2 separate regions of the Homo sapiens genome follow, and region 2 is linked to region 1. The links are contacts of gene promoters, found by promoter capture Hi-C in human tissues and cell types (Jung and others, 2019). All regions are on one chromosome and are shown on one strand. The core of a region is centred on a gene start or on the middle of the fragment in contact, and the rest is flanking DNA. Distances in the headings are between cores, read along the strand shown. Region 1 holds the start of MIF (macrophage migration inhibitory factor). Region 2 overlaps ZNF70 (zinc finger protein 70).

What was found. Contacts are between HindIII fragments. The study calls those that stand out against the background at their distance.
Region 2: a contact is called between a fragment that was not itself captured here and the fragment with the promoter of MIF in region 1, in 1 of the 25 tissues and cell types used here (adrenal gland).

What each region holds. Positions count from the first base shown.
Region 1 is chr22:23,891,041-23,898,910 of GRCh38, forward strand. MIF (macrophage migration inhibitory factor) reads left to right here and starts at 3,343. Exons shown (of 3, transcript NM_002415.2): 1 at 3,343-3,542; 2 at 3,732-3,904; 3 at 4,000-4,183. The coding sequence starts at 3,435. The coding sequence ends at 4,066. It overlaps MIF-AS1 (MIF antisense RNA 1), which reads right to left. Exons shown (of 3, transcript NR_038911.1): 1 at 7,804-7,870; 2 at 4,789-5,070; 3 at 2,670-4,492. RefSeq lists enhancers at 3,018-3,825, 3,826-4,633. The HindIII fragment of the contact is 32,419 bases long and covers 1-7,870 here.
Region 2 is chr22:23,733,685-23,741,554 of GRCh38, forward strand. ZNF70 (zinc finger protein 70) reads right to left here. Exons shown (of 2, transcript NM_021916.4): 2 at 4,998-7,870. Among named protein-coding and RNA genes, the nearest start is that of ZNF70, 13 kb to the right of the region's middle. The HindIII fragment of the contact is 3,840 bases long and covers 2,879-6,718 here.

The DNA of each region.
Region 1 (7,870 bases), core at 2,093-4,592:
GAGGAGGAAGAGGGAGTCAGCAGCCATGCCTGCCAATGCCTCCTAGCGCATTTGTCCATGGTTAGCGGATAATTATTGTGTCCCTATGGGTCCCAAGGTGTATTATTTTTTTTTTGCTCTTATAATAAATCAACACAAATTTTTAGCAGCTTCAAACAACACGCATTTATTATCTCACAGTTTCTGTGGGTCAGTAGTCCGGCGTGACATGACTAGGTCTTCTGTGTAAGGACTCGCATGGCCAAAGTCAAGGTATCTGAAGGGACAAGGGAAAAATCCACTTCCAAGTTCAATCTGGTTGTGAGCAGAATTCAGTTCCTTGTGGTTGTACCATGAGGTCTCTGGTCCCCTTCATCTTCAAAGCCGGTAATGGACATCGAGTGTTTCTCTTGCTTGGAATCTGGCACTCTAGCTGGAGAAAATTATCTGCTTTTAAGAGTTCATGTGATTAGATTGGGTGTACCCAGATGCTCCATGCTAATCTCCCTATTATGCACAGATGCATAATCCTAATTGCATCTGTGAAGTGCTTTTTGCCAGGTAACATGGCATACTTGTAGGTTCCAGGGATTAGTGCTTGTCCTCCCCCTGCTATTCTTTAGTGGGCAGGGGGTCATCTGCCTACCACGGAGGTAAGGGGTCAGGAGGTATGCATACAGCAATGCCCAAAAAGAGACTGTCCCCACTGGGATGGAGTTTACCGCCTAGACATGCAGTCTTAACTCAGAAATATGGAGATAGCCTCGAAGGACAGGACAGGTACTGGGCACGTGTGGGAATGGACCAAGCCAGGTGCTCCGGGGGCTTTCCCAAGGAACTAAGGCTGAGCCAAGAACTGAAGGATGAGTTGGAGTCAGATGAGGGAAAATGTGGGCAAACTGGATTTCAGAACCAACCCCCAACCCTGGAGCCAGGAGCCATGGTACTGAAGGACAGTGCGCCATAACTCAGAGAACCAGGGAGGGTTGGCGGAGGCTCACAGGGACCGGGTTACCCCAGGGCCTTGTGACAGTACTACCCCTAGTATCAGAGGAGACTGTCATTGGCATTTAGGCCACTTGGTGCTCATAACACCTCTATGTCAGGTGAACACTATTGTCATCCCCAAATTACAGATGGGGAAAGTGAGCCAAATGTCCATGCTAGTAAGAGGCAAATCATATCACTTCTTTGGGTACCCTTCTAGAAGGATGAGGCTGACTGCCACTGGAAACAGCTGGGGAGGGTACAAGGAGATGACAAGTGGCTCAGAGGCTGTCCTGGCTATAAGAATTAAAGAGGAAAGAAACACCAAGGGTGGCTCGACAGTCAACAAGGACAGGTTTATTTTGGAAAACAAACTTGAGAGGGGCTTCTGGCCAAGTTAGGTCAGAGCCACACTCTCTTACAAACTAAGGATATTTAAGGGTTTTGGAGGGGGTTCTTATCATAGGTTCTGAATGTTTCTGTGTGAGGGAAAGTTTATTGCGGGGATGGAATGTCTCTGGTCAGAAGGGAGGCTGTCTCCGGGTTGGCATGTTTCTGGTCAGAGAAGGGTTTATCTTAGGGTTGGAATGTTTCTGGTTATGCTGACATTAGCTATTAGGCTGATATTTTCGGGCTGGATTTAGGCGGCTTTTAATTAAGGGGGAACTTAGAATGGTGGTGTTTGTTCAAGATGGCAATGCTCCTGCTCCGTCACTGGCCAGGTAAGGCAACCCTTTGTTATGGTAACAACCTGAGATTGGCAGGGGCTCACCTCCAGGGGCAGCTCATGTGCTTGCTGGCGAGGCTGCACCTTGTCATTCAGGTTCACAGGGCACAGGTCAACCAGGCCCTGGCTCTTCAGTCTTCTGCCTGGAGTGACTTATGTAATTCTGCTCAGCTTTCATAGGGCACAGGGAGTCGGGGCTAACTCTGCTGCCTGGGGCTGGAAACAGACTCCTCCCTTGAGGAGCAGCAGTCCACCATAGGGAAGTCACAGTGGTCCAGGCCAAAGGGGATGCAGGTAGTGTAGACTAGGCGGTAGTTCAGGGAATGGAGAGAAGTGGGAATAAAGGGATAGTGAAAGGAAGCATATTTTACTGGCAGGTGATGAGGTGTAGGAGGACAAGTCATACATTTGGACTTTACAGAGCAGTGGACACTCAGTCAGCTGCTGTCAGCGCCTGGGACTTAGGGGAGTGCCCCTGGCTGGAGACATGGTATGGAGTGCCATCAGTTAGGGAGCCCTGGGCACAGGTAAGAGAAGGTGTGACACCAGGAGGGAAAGAGTCTGGGGCCCAGCTGCAGGAACCAATACCCATAGGCTATTTGTATAAATGGGCCATGGGGCCTCCCAGCTGGAGGCTGGCTGGTGCCACGAGGGTCCCACAGGCATGGGTGTCCTTCCTATATCACATGGCCTTCACTGAGACTGGTATATGGATTGCACCTATCAGAGACCAAGGACAGGACCTCCCTGGAAATCTCTGAGGACCTGGCCTGTGATCCAGTTGCTGCCTTGTCCTCTTCCTGCTATGTCATGGCTTATCTTCTTTCACCCATTCATTCATTCATTCATTCAGCAGTATTAGTCAATGTCTCTTGTATGCCTGGCACCTGCTAGATGGTCCCCGAGTTTACCATTAGTGGAAAAGACATTTAAGAAATTCACCAAGGGCTCTATGAGAGGCCATACACGGTGGACCTGACTAGGGTGTGGCTTCCCTGAGGAGCTGAAGTTGCCCAGAGGCCCAGAGAAGGGGAGCTGAGCACGTTTGAACCACTGAACCTGCTCTGGACCTCGCCTCCTTCCCTTCGGTGCCTCCCAGCATCCTATCCTCTTTAAAGAGCAGGGGTTCAGGGAAGTTCCCTGGATGGTGATTCGCAGGGGCAGCTCCCCTCTCACCTGCCGCGATGACTACCCCGCCCCATCTCAAACACACAAGCTCACGCATGCGGGACTGGAGCCCTTGAGGACATGTGGCCCAAAGACAGGAGGTACAGGGGCTCAGTGCGTGCAGTGGAATGAACTGGGCTTCATCTCTGGAAGGGTAAGGGGCCATCTTCCGGGTTCACCGCCGCATCCCCACCCCCGGCACAGCGCCTCCTGGCGACTAACATCGGTGACTTAGTGAAAGGACTAAGAAAGACCCGAGGCGAGGCCGGAACAGGCCGATTTCTAGCCGCCAAGTGGAGAACAGGTTGGAGCGGTGCGCCGGGCTTAGCGGCGGTTGCTGGAGGAACGGGCGGAGTCGCCCAGGGTCCTGCCCTGCGGGGGTCGAGCCGAGGCAGGCGGTGACTTCCCCACTCGGGGCGGAGCCGCAGCCTCGCGGGGGCGGGGCCTGGCGCCGGCGGTGGCGTCACAAAAGGCGGGACCACAGTGGTGTCCGAGAAGTCAGGCACGTAGCTCAGCGGCGGCCGCGGCGCGTGCGTCTGTGCCTCTGCGCGGGTCTCCTGGTCCTTCTGCCATCATGCCGATGTTCATCGTAAACACCAACGTGCCCCGCGCCTCCGTGCCGGACGGGTTCCTCTCCGAGCTCACCCAGCAGCTGGCGCAGGCCACCGGCAAGCCCCCCCAGGTTTGCCGGGAGGGGACAGGAAGAGGGGGGTGCCCACCGGACGAGGGGTTCCGCGCTGGGAGCTGGGGAGGCGACTCCTGAACGGAGCTGGGGGGCGGGGCGGGGGGAGGACGGTGGCTCGGGCCCGAAGTGGACGTTCGGGGCCCGACGAGGTCGCTGGGGCGGGCTGACCGCGCCCTTTCCTCGCAGTACATCGCGGTGCACGTGGTCCCGGACCAGCTCATGGCCTTCGGCGGCTCCAGCGAGCCGTGCGCGCTCTGCAGCCTGCACAGCATCGGCAAGATCGGCGGCGCGCAGAACCGCTCCTACAGCAAGCTGCTGTGCGGCCTGCTGGCCGAGCGCCTGCGCATCAGCCCGGACAGGTACGCGGAGTCGCGGAGGGGCGGGGGAGGGGCGGCGGCGCGCGGCCAGGCCCGGGACTGAGCCACCCGCTGAGTCCGGCCTCCTCCCCCCGCAGGGTCTACATCAACTATTACGACATGAACGCGGCCAATGTGGGCTGGAACAACTCCACCTTCGCCTAAGAGCCGCAGGGACCCACGCTGTCTGCGCTGGCTCCACCCGGGAACCCGCCGCACGCTGTGTTCTAGGCCCGCCCACCCCAACCTTCTGGTGGGGAGAAATAAACGGTTTAGAGACTAGGAGTGCCTCGGGGTTCCTTGGCTTGCGGGAGGAATTGGTGCAGAGCCGGGATATTGGGGAGCGAGGTCGGGAACGGTGTTGGGGGCGGGGGTCAGGGCCGGGTTGCTCTCCTCCGAACCTGCTGTTCGGGAGCCCTTTTGTCCAGCCTGTCCCTCCTACGCTCCTAACAGAGGAGCCCCAGTGTCTTTCCATTCTATGGCGTACGAAGGGATGAGGAGAAGTTGGCACTCTGCCCTGGGCTGCAGACTCGGGATCTAAGGCGCTCTGCCCGCCGGAATCCGTTGTACCTAGGGCCACCACGTGGGGTGCTGGAGGTGAGCCGACCACGGAAGAGGGGGAGGAGGAGTTGGAGTTGGGAGGAGTCCGAGGTCTTCTAGGCCTAGACCTTTCTCTCAGCCCCACCTTCCCCAGCCTTCTTGTTGGGCAGAGGGTAGCCAGAGGACAGAAAGATCCCACCCAGAGCCACTCACTGCCATCCACTTTGTTAGGTGACTTCAGGAGAGTTTTCAGGCGGGTGGGTGGGGGAGGTGCAGAGTTCTTGGTCATACCGCCCCGTCCACCCCCGAACCCCACGCCTTGGGTTCTGCTCCCCTCAGACACCCACCAAGCCTCCGCCACAGCAGTTCCCTGAGGAAATTGGGCGTGGGGTTTCCATTGGGACCGTTCGTGTTCTGTGGTGCCACAGACATGTCTGTAAAACCTTCAGTTATGTTTGGGCGCAGTGGCACAAGCCTGTGATCCCGGCACTTTGGGAGGTGGAGGTGAGTGGAGTGTGACTCCTCTGCTTCTCTCAGTCTCCAGCCACATCTCGTCTCCAGTCCCCTGTTCACTCGGTCATCCCGCGCAGTACTGGACAGCGAGCTCTCCTTCCAGAAGAGCAATGGGGCTGGGTGGGGTGAAGATTAGGAAGAGGAAGGAGAATAGAAGCTCCAGGGAGTCTGGAAGGGTGGCACCCATCTTGGGATGGGGCACCCCTTCCATGAAGGTCTCTAAAGCAAGGCCCTCCTCAGCTTACTCCCTGCCAGCCGAGGGCCTCAGTCTCATTGTTAACTCAGTGAGAGGGCGGTGGAGCCCCTCGTCTACCTCCCAGCTGGGGGAGACATGGGGGGCATGGGATGGCTCCAGCTGTAGCGGGAAGGTCCCACTCCTCTCAGCCTGGCTTTCAGGCTTGAGGTTTCCTTCTTGGATCTGAGTACCTGTGGTGTAACAGGCACCCTCCTCGGCCCTGGCCTTTATCACATCCCCTCAGCTCCTGGGTGCCCCCAGCCCCAGCCTCCCAAGGCCTGAGGCTGAGCTTTGCCCAGGACCCCCAGTTCCCCCCACAACAAACTCTTTCTGCCTCGGGCCCCACACCCCACCAAGCCCTGGCTGGCCCCCTGGCTCCCACCCCGCCTCAGCGGTCTTTGCTCTCGGCTGTGTCACAGATAGGGAGAGCAGGGGCGCAGTGCCCCATGAGCATCTAATGCAACTCCCTCATTTCACAGATGAGGACACTGACCCCAGGATCCAGGGCATGGTCATACACTCAATGCCATGCCCCCTGCAAGGGCCCTGTGGCCTCACATGAGCAAGTTAGACTCTGAGGGCCGAGGAGATGGGCAGGGCAGGCTGGGCACCTGCTGTGTGAGGGCAGGAGGGTTGGTGAGAGCTGTCCTCCAAAAGCAGGTGAGTGTCTGAGGTTCTGTGGCCCCCTGGGGGCATCCACAAGGTCATGGGTCCTTGGACTCCAGGAACAAAGGGGGTGTCTGTGGGTCAGGGACCTATCCGCTTGCCCTGCCCAAAGTGTTCCTAAGTCCCCTGGGACTAATAACCGGCCTGCCTGCTGGGGAGGTCAGCTGCTACATCCCACCTTCAAGCCACACCTGCCCCCATTGACCCCCATCCCATGGCCAGCTCCATTTCCTCCAAAGCACAGGCTCCACTGCCCACCAGGTGGTGGGTCTCTTCCTCAAACCCCTGTTTGACTGCCCCAGGACCTGCAGGGTCAGCCTTGGAAATGCATTTCCAAGTAACGCCACAAACTCTGAGGTACAGGACAGACAGGTGTGGGGTCCATCTGCCTGTTCTCCATCACTCTGGTGGTACTATGTCATCTGCTGAGAAAGACCCCCGGCCTACAGGGTGACCCTCACTCTCCTCAGGGCCACTGTTTGCAACAGACAGACAGCCTGGCAGGCCTTGAACCTCATTTTGTAGGTTCAAGGCCTGTCCCCCATCTGTCCACTATAAGCCTCACACACACCATTCTTCTGGGATACCTTCCCTGAGGCCACCTGGTCAACACCCACAGGCCCCTTTGCTTCAGCCCAGGTCCTGTTAGCTGAGGTTTCCATTTCTGGACATAGCTCCACCCAGTTCTGTGATCCGTTGGGCTGGTGGCACCAGGGGCCCCTCGGTACTTGTCCATTCTGGACAGCCCAGCAATGTAGGCTTTTCCCAAGACTTCCCACCCTGCATGTGTCCCACCTCATCCCCTCCAGGAATTTTGCTTTGTTGCAGAGACTCCCTCCCCACCACCCCCCACCGCCAGCCTCCAGACCCCACTCCCTTCTGGGAGCCCGATTCCAGCAAGATCAGGATCAGGCTCCCACTCTGCTCCTTCTACTGGCCTCAGTTTTTCCCATCTGTGAAATGAAGGGATTCATCAGAAGTCCTTCCCACATACTCAATCACGGAGGCATGACAGGGACATCTCACATCCTCAGAGGCACGGTTAATCCAAGGAATGCCATGGGAAGGGAGGAGACAGCAGGTGGCCTGTGCCTGCACTCAGGTCTTGATAAATTGTGAAATCTCTCCCTCACCCCTTCCTCGGAGGGCACTATTGTTCCTGATGTGCCAGCCTTGATGGCAGTGGATAGGGAGGCAGGGACAGAGACAATGAGGAAGTGTGGTTAGGTATCTACTTAGAAGTCTCCAGATGGAGCCGGGAAGTGCTAGGAGGCCAGTGAGGCCAGTCTGTGCAGCAGGGCAAACGAGTGGTATCCTGCTGGGATGCAACTCAAATGCCTTCACTGGGAACTGCTCCCCCACCAGCCCCACACTGAAGGGCTGGCTCTACCACTCACAGGAGCTGGCAGGGCAGGCAATGAGACAACCCTACTGCCTCTAATGCAGTAGATAAAATTAATGCAGGGCCAACCCTCATATCAGAGTGGTTTTTCAGTTACCTGGACAAGTGCCAAGGGAGGGGCCCCTGGGGCCACCAGCCCAAAGACCACAGAACTGAGTGGAGCTCTCTATGTGCAGGAGACACACACAGAGATCAACTGATCCTTGGAGCTTGGGAGATTTCCAGGATTTCTGGGCCACTGACACTGTTTCTATAAAGCCCTCTTTGGCCATCTCAGTTCCTTTCCAGGCTAAGCAGTGAAAGCCAAGTCTTAGTTCTCCAGGCCTGGGCCTTCCTGAGTAATTTACAGGACTGGTGTGAGGGACAATGTCAACCCACCAGCCAACTGCCCAGATTTCCCCTCCTGGCGAGTGAGGCCAAGCCACTTCATTTCTATGTTTGAAGCCCATGTAAAAGAAACAGAGATTGTCAGTTTCAGAAACCGACTCTGTCCCTTCAGTCCTGGAACCTCAGGCCTCATCTGGTGACTATGGGGTCTCAACTTACAGTTTAGCTCTCAAAACAGCCAGACAGAGCACCAAATTGAAAGGCTACAAATGAGAAGTATCGTCCC
Region 2 (7,870 bases), core at 3,549-6,048, 160 kb before region 1:
CGCCACCACACTTGGCTAATTTTTTTGTATTTTTAGTAGAGACGGGGTCTCACAACGTTGGTCAGGCTGGTCTCAAACTCCTGACCTCAGGTGATCCACCCACCTTGGCCTCCCAAAGTGCTGGGATTACAGGCATGAGTCAGCGTGCTCAGCCTATTATTACTGTAATAATATTTGTCATGCTGATCTATGACCGGTGATCCTTGATGTTACTATTGTATCAGTGCAAAAGTAATTGTGGGTTTTGTCATTAAAAGTAATGGCACTAGGCTGGGCCCTGCTCAGTAGCTTATTTGGTAAGCCGGTGGGTCCTGAAAGTTTGCTTTTTTTTTTTTTTTTTTTTTGGATATGAAGTCTCATTGTCACTAGGCTGGAGTGCAGTGGTGCGATCTCGGCTCACTGCAACCTCCGTCTCCCGGGTTCAAGCAATTCTTCTGCCTCAGCCTCCTGAGTAGCTGGGACTACAGGTGTGTGCCACCACGCCCAGCTAATTTTTTTGTATTTTTATTAGAGATGGGGTTTCTCCATGTTGGTCAGGCTGGTCTCGAACTCCCGACCTCAGGTGATCCGCCTGCCTCGGCGTCGCAAAGTGCTAGGATTACAGGTGTCAGCCACCACGACCAGCCGAAAGTTTGCATTTCTAGCAAGTTCCTGGGCAATAATTATGATGGCCAAGAATGACAGTCTGAGAACGACTGCTCTGGAAGATTTTATCTGTGACCCAGAGCTTTGACCCTTTTGGGGATTTGGTGTGTCATGTCCTTACTGCTGGAGTTTGCTTTAGTTAACAAAATCTGTCATTGCTCCCAAATCACTTGGTAGGGGTTATTCATTCTTCCTTGAGTTGAGCTTCTTTATCTTTGCTGTTAATAAAATGTAAGTTTCAAACATTTCTTTTTTCTTTTAGGGACAGGGTCTTGCTCTGTTACCCAGGCTGGAGTGCAGTGGTGCCATCACAGCTCACTGCAGCCTCCCACTGCTGGGTGTGGTGGTGGGCGCCTGTAGTCGTAGCTACACAGGAGGCTGAGGCAGGAGAATCGCTTGAACCTGGGAGGCGGAGGTTGCAGTGAGCCGAGATCGTGCCACTGCACTCCAGCCTGGGCGACAGAGTGAGACTCTGTCTCAAAAAAAAAAAAAAAAGAAAGAAAGGAAGGAAGCAAGGAAGGAAACAGAAAAGAAATGAAGCCTGACTTCAAGAAGTTCCAACATAGCATGGAGGAGGAGTGCAGGGAGCACGAGGGCGTGTGGGGGGGCGTCTCTGTTGGGAACTCAGGGAAGATGTTCTTGATCTGATTAATTATTCAACCAAAATGACAGGCTGGATTCTAGGCACTGGGAGTACCCTGAAGGGGCTTCTAGTAAACCTGTCCTCTGCATTGGGTCTTGGAAGATAGGGGGAATTTGCCCAAGGAAGAAGGGGAAAAGAACATTGCAGGCAGAGGGAGAAGTCTGGACAAAAAGGGTGACTGGCCTGCTTGAAGAACAGGAAGTCATCCAAGTGGCTATAACTATAACAAAAGGTAGGGAGGAGACGTGGAAAGAGTTTGGGGGAAGGCTGTGAAGAGCTTTGAATGTCAAGAGAGGGAGTTTGATCTTGGTCCTTTAGGTCATAGGGAGCCCCAGTCAATTTTAAAATCAGAAGAGCCAAATTTATTTTATTTTATTTTTATTTATTTATTTATTTTTAGACGGAGTTTCGCTCTTGTTGCCCAGGCTGGAGTGCAATGGCATGGTCCGGGCTCACTGCAACCTCTGCCTCCCAGGTTCAAGCGATTCTCCTGCCTCAGTCTCCCAAGTAGCTGGGATTACAGGCATGCGCCACCACGCCCAGCTAATTTTGTATTTTTAGTAAAGATGGGGTTTCTCAATGTTGGTCAGGCTGGTCTCAAACTCCTGACCTCAGGTGATCCACCCCCCTCGGCCTCCTAAAGTGCTGGGATTACAGGTGTGAGCCACTGCTCCCGGCCAAAACCCCATCTTAAAAAAGAAAGAAAGGAAGGAAGGAAGATAAATCTAGCTATAGTATTGAGCTATATGGGATGGAACAGAGGGAGAAAAAGAGACCAATGGCTGGAATGTGTTGTGGTTTGACGATTTCTAGCCCTGGCTCAACTTAAGAATGGAATTACTTGGAGTTCCCAGAATGGATCCAACTGTTTCAAGCCTTCCTAAATGCTCTTCCCTGTGCCTGGGATGCCCTTCCCTCAGTGTCGGTCTTGCTACCTCCCATTCATTCATCAGTATTCTAGCCAAACATCATCAATGTCAGGTAGGCTCCCAGTTGATCCAGGTGTCCAACTCTGGGCTCCCATGTGATCCTGAGTAGTACGGGCATTTAGCGATCTTTTCCTGATTTGGGAGCACTGTAGTAGTGCCTTCTGGGCCTTCTCCACCACCCAAGTGGTAAGCTCCTTGCAAGCAAAGCTTCGTCTGACACATTTTAGTGTCCTGACTCCAAGCCCTCTCCTGTCTTCCCCCACAGAAGCCCTAGAACTGGGCTGCAGCTGACCACTGGGAAGACAGGAAAGACTGTGAGACCAACTGTATGCCATGTGGTCCTGAAAAATGCGAAAATGGAGTGGCAAGTCCTGAGAGCCACCAGCTAGTGTCTGAGGCCTGGCATCCCTTTCTGGGAGGCCTCGTGTGAAAGCCAGTGGCATTCTGCAGATGTGAGGTCGTACTTCTGAATACGCAGCAAAATCCTGGGGCCAAATGCTTTGACAGATGAATTGAGGCTAGAAAGAGAGTTGGAGAAGTGGTTTGACAGCAGGGCTGTAACCACAATACCTAACATGGGTAAGTCACCAGGTGGCAGGCTCTGAGCTAAAATTCATCTCATTGCATCTTCATGACAGTACTGTTTATACATAAAGAAACAGAAGCTGGCCGGGCATGGTGGCTCACGCCTGTAATCCCAGCACTTTGGGAGGCCGAGGCGGGTGGATCACCTGAGGTAGGGAGTTTGAGACCAGCCTGACCAACACGGAGAAACCCCGTCTCTAATAAAAATACAAAATAAGCTGGGCATGGTGGCGCATGCCTATAACCCCAGCTACTTGGGAGGCTGAGGCAAGAGAATCGCTTGAACCCGGGAGGCAGAGGTTGTGGTGAGCCGAGATCTTGCCATTGTACTCCAGCCTGGGCAACAAGAGCAAAACTCTGTCTCCAAAAAAACAAAAGAAAAAAAGAAAAAAAAAAAAAACAGAAGCTGCAAAGGGTTAGGGGTTAGAGGACATGCACACAGGCACCCAGGTAGAAGGGGACACTCAGTCTGGCTGCCCAGATGACAGAAGAGAGATTGTCAGTCCAGGTTTCTTTGCAGCAAACAGCAAGCTTGCAAGCTTGGTATGTGCGGAGGCCACGCTGTAGGTATGGGGAAGAGAACTCAGGAAGAGGAGAAAGACAGGAAAGCAGCATAAAGGCTTGCAAAAAAATTAAAAACAAATAAAAAGCAGATGAGTCAAAAGAGTCTGCAGCTGAGTCCCTGACAGTCGACACTGAAATGGACATAAGCCTTTATCCTGAGGAAGCATCCTTGGCATTAAAGACTCATAGGAGGCCCAGGCGCAGTGGCTCATGTCTGTAATCCCAGCACTTTGGGAGGCTGAGGCTGGTGGATCACCTGAGGTCAGGAGATAGAGACCGGCCTGGCGAACATGGGGAAACCATGCCTCTACTAAAAATACAAAATTAGCAGGGCATGGTGGCGCATGCCTGTTATCCCAGCTGTTATCCCAGCTACTTGGGAGGCCGAGGCAAGAGAATCGCTTGAACCTGGGAGGTGGAGGTTGCAGTGAGCTGAGATCACGCCACTGCACTCTAGCCTGGCAACAGAGTGAGACTCCGTCCCCCAAAAAAAAAAAAAAAAAATTAGCCAGGTGCAATGGCGCGTGCCTGTAATCTCAGCTACTTTGGAGGCTGAGGCAGGAGAATCGCTTGATCCTGGTTGCAGTGAGCCGAGATCGCACCACTGCACTCCAGCCTGGGCTACAGAGCAAGACTTCATCTCAAAAAAAAAAAAAAAGAAAGAAAGAAATACTTCAAAACACTAATAGTGTAATAATCAACTGCACCTGATAGTTTGCTAAGCATGTTTGCATTCCTTATACCACTGAGGCCCCCAAGGCTGTGAGTGTCATCATTCCCCCATGTTATAGCTTAGGACCCTGAAGTCAGAGGCTGTAACTTGAGGAATGGGCTCAGGGCAGATCTTGGCACTGAACCCAAATGTGACAAGAAGAGAGACAGGTGGGCCCAATGGCAGACCTCTAGTCTATCCAGAAATGACACTCCACATATGGTTAATAACTCCTAGAGATGGGAGTGAGGGGTGAGCATGGCTTTTTGAGGTTAAATTAGTTAATATATATTAAAATATTAAAATGAAAATAAATTATGCCTTGCTCAATAGTATTAATGATAGAACTTCTCGTACAAAAATAAATTACAGAAAGAACCAGAAAACAAACTCTAACAATTTGTTGTTTATGTAGATGTATAGCAAAATATATACACAAATTTAAAAAACAAAATGCTGAGCTAAACTCTACCAGGCAAATTCAAGAAAAGCAGGGGGCTTCAATTATAATATTTGGAAAAGACAAGTTTAAGCTAGAAATATTAAAAGAGGCAAAGAGGGTACTTAGCATAGTTTTTCTTTTTCTTTTTTTTTTTTTTTTTTTGAGATGGAGTCTTGCTCTGTCACCCAGGCTGGAGTGCAGTGGCACAATCTCTGCTCATTGCAACCTCCACCTCCCGGGTTCAAGTGATTCTTCTGCCCCAGCCTCCCAAGTAGCTGGGATTACAGGCACAAACCACCATGCCCAGCTAATTTTTTGTATTTTTAGTAGAGATGGGGTTTCACTATTATGGCCAAGCTCGTTTCAAACTCCTGACCTCAAGTGATCCGCCCACCTTGGCCTCCCAAAGTGCTAGGATTACAGGCATGAGCCACTGTGCCTGGCCGAGTTTTTCAATATATCACTATTAAATATATATGCCCCAAACATGATACTTATTTATTGATAATTCATACCCTGCCTATTTCTCAAAAATGACTTGAGAAAAACTGCACAACATAGCGACAATACACATACAGAAATTAAAAGTGAAACAGGAATACATAGAGATATAACACACAAACATCAAACTATGATTAGATCAGGTAAATGAGTGTTCTGAACTGCTTTGGTGTCACAGAGGCATTTAAAAATATAGTAAATACTACAGATCCTTGTCCCAGCAAAATTCCTTCAAGCACATACCCAGCTTTGTTCGATCCCTAGGGGTCTGCAACTCCTAAACCCCTACATGCTAAAGACTCCTAGGCAGGCCATGGACCCCCAGATTAAGAACTCTAAAGTAAATGAAAGTCAGAGAAAATATGGATTTGAATAAAATAATGAAAAAATTGAGTTAACAAATAGAACTGGTAGAATAAAAACACATTTTGAGATTACACAAATGCTTTTATAAAAACTGATAATATATTCAGGCCCAAAGAAGTCCTATGGACACTTAGAAATGTTGACACCACAGTACAGTAAGAAATAAGCAGCAATACCCTAAGCATTCATCACTTAGAAATTTTTTTTATATATATTTTTTTTGAGACAGAGTCTAGCTCTTTTGCCCAGGCTGGAGTGCAGTGGCACCACCTCGGCTCACTGCAAGCTCTGCCTCCCGGGTTCACACCATTCTCCTGCCTCAGCCTCCCAAGTAGCTGGGACTACAGGCGCACAGCTGCCTGTAGCCACCACGCACGGCTAATTTTTTGTATTTTTAATAGAGACAGGGTTTCATCGTGTTAGCCAGGATGGTTTCGATCTCCTGACCTCATGATCTGCCCGTCTTGGCCTCCCAAAGTGCTGGGATTACAGGCTTGAGCCACCGCTCCCGGCTATTTTTTGTTTTTGTTGTTGTTGTTTTCCCCGAGATGGAGTCTTGCCCTGTCACCCAGGCTGAAGGGTAGTGGCACAATCTTGGCTCACTGCAACCTCCGCCTCCCGGGTTCAAGCGATTCTCCTGCCTCAGCCTCCCGTGTAGCTGGGATTACAGGCACCCGCCACCATGCCCAGTTAATTTTTGTATTTTTAGTAGAGACGGGTTTTCACCATGTTGGCCAGGCTGGTCTTAAACTCCTGACCTCGTGATCCACCCACCTCGGCCTTCCAAAGTGCTGGGATTACAGGTGTGAGTCACCATGCCCGGCCCACTTAGAAATATTTTTAAATAATAACATTTGGGCAAAAGGAAATTCTTAATACTATAACAAAAAACACCACGTCAAAACTTACGGAGTGCAGACAAAGCTGTCACTCTAAGGAGAAGAAGAAATAAAAAAATGCCGAGCGCGGTGGCTCACACCTGTAATCCCAGCACTTTGGGAGGCCGAGGCGGGCGGATCACGAGCTCAGGAGATAGATACCATCTTGGCTAACACGGTGAAACCCCGTCTCTATTAAAAATACAAAAAATTAGCCGGGCGTGGTGGCGGGTGCCTGTAGTCCCAGCTACTTGGGAGGCTGAGGCAGGAGAATGGTCTGAACCTGGGAGGTAGAGCTTGCAGTAAGCCGAGATCGCCCCACTGCACTACAGCCTGGGTGACAAAGCAAGACTCCATCTCAAAAAAAGAAAAAAGAAAAAAGAAAAAAAAAGGTAGGACAACAAAAACAAAGAACAACTAAATTAAAAGATAATTGATTAAAATATTGCCAGGGATGATCTTTTATAACTTTACACTGTTTGAGAATCTAAATAGAATGAGAGAGTTTAAAAAAAAAAATCTAATAAGCTGGCTGGGCACATGGCTCACGCCTGTAATCCCAACACTTCAGGAGGCCAAGGCAGGCAGATCAGGAGGTCAGGAGTTCGAGACCAGCCTGGCCAACATGGTGAAACCCCATCTCTACTAAAAATACAAAAGTTAGCCAGGCGTGGTGGCACATGCCTGTAATCCCAGCTACTCAGGAGGCTGAGGCAGGAGAATCACTTGAACCCGGGAGGCAGAGGTTGCAGCAAGCCAAGATCGCACCACTGCACTCCAGCCTGGGTGACAGTGAGACTCTGTCTCAAAAAAAAAAAAAAAAAAAAAAAAACTAATAAAACAAGGAAAGAATTTGAACAGAGGGAATGAGGCTCTGGTCATACTTCCAAAAAAGAACCTGGTCTTACCATGTTTATCTGTTAACCCTTGGGAGAGAGGGGGGATCTTCATCTCCACGTTACACAAAAATTAGAAAGAGAGAGGGAGGGAGAGGAGGAGAAAGTGCACATTTCAAAATGCAAGAACAGCACAGAATTATGAGCTGGGAGTGATGCTGGAGTGGGCAGGGGCGGCCTGATCTCCATGCGGCTTGCTCAGAGTGGGTAAACCAGGTTGGCTGAAACGAGGGTTTACGTGCAGGAAAGCTCCTGAAAGTTGGTTTTAAGGAGAGTGGTGACTTGTGCAAAATGATGCTTTAAAAATCAATTTGGCTGGGGTGTGCAGGAAGGATGGGGAGGGAGAAACCAAAGATAGGTAACAGACATTTGCCAGATGATAACGGTGGGGAAGAGGGGCAGGTGTAAAGAGGAGGTAGATCTTTCAGGGACCCCTGCTTGATGCCGCCTGCTGTCCCCACTGCATCCTAGCATTCTCTCTTCACTCTTGATAGAGACAGGCCTGAAATGACAGGCCACTTGCAGGCAATGCCCAGGGCACCATCCAGTCAGTCCAACTGGTTACACAGAGGGTTCTGGTGGACAATGGAGTGCTGGTTAAATGTTAAATGTTTCACATACGTAGCAAAGACAGGGGCTGGACAGAGGCATGGCTGGAACTCCCACCATGACCTCTCCAGCCCATCATATCTGTCATTTGGAAATCTCT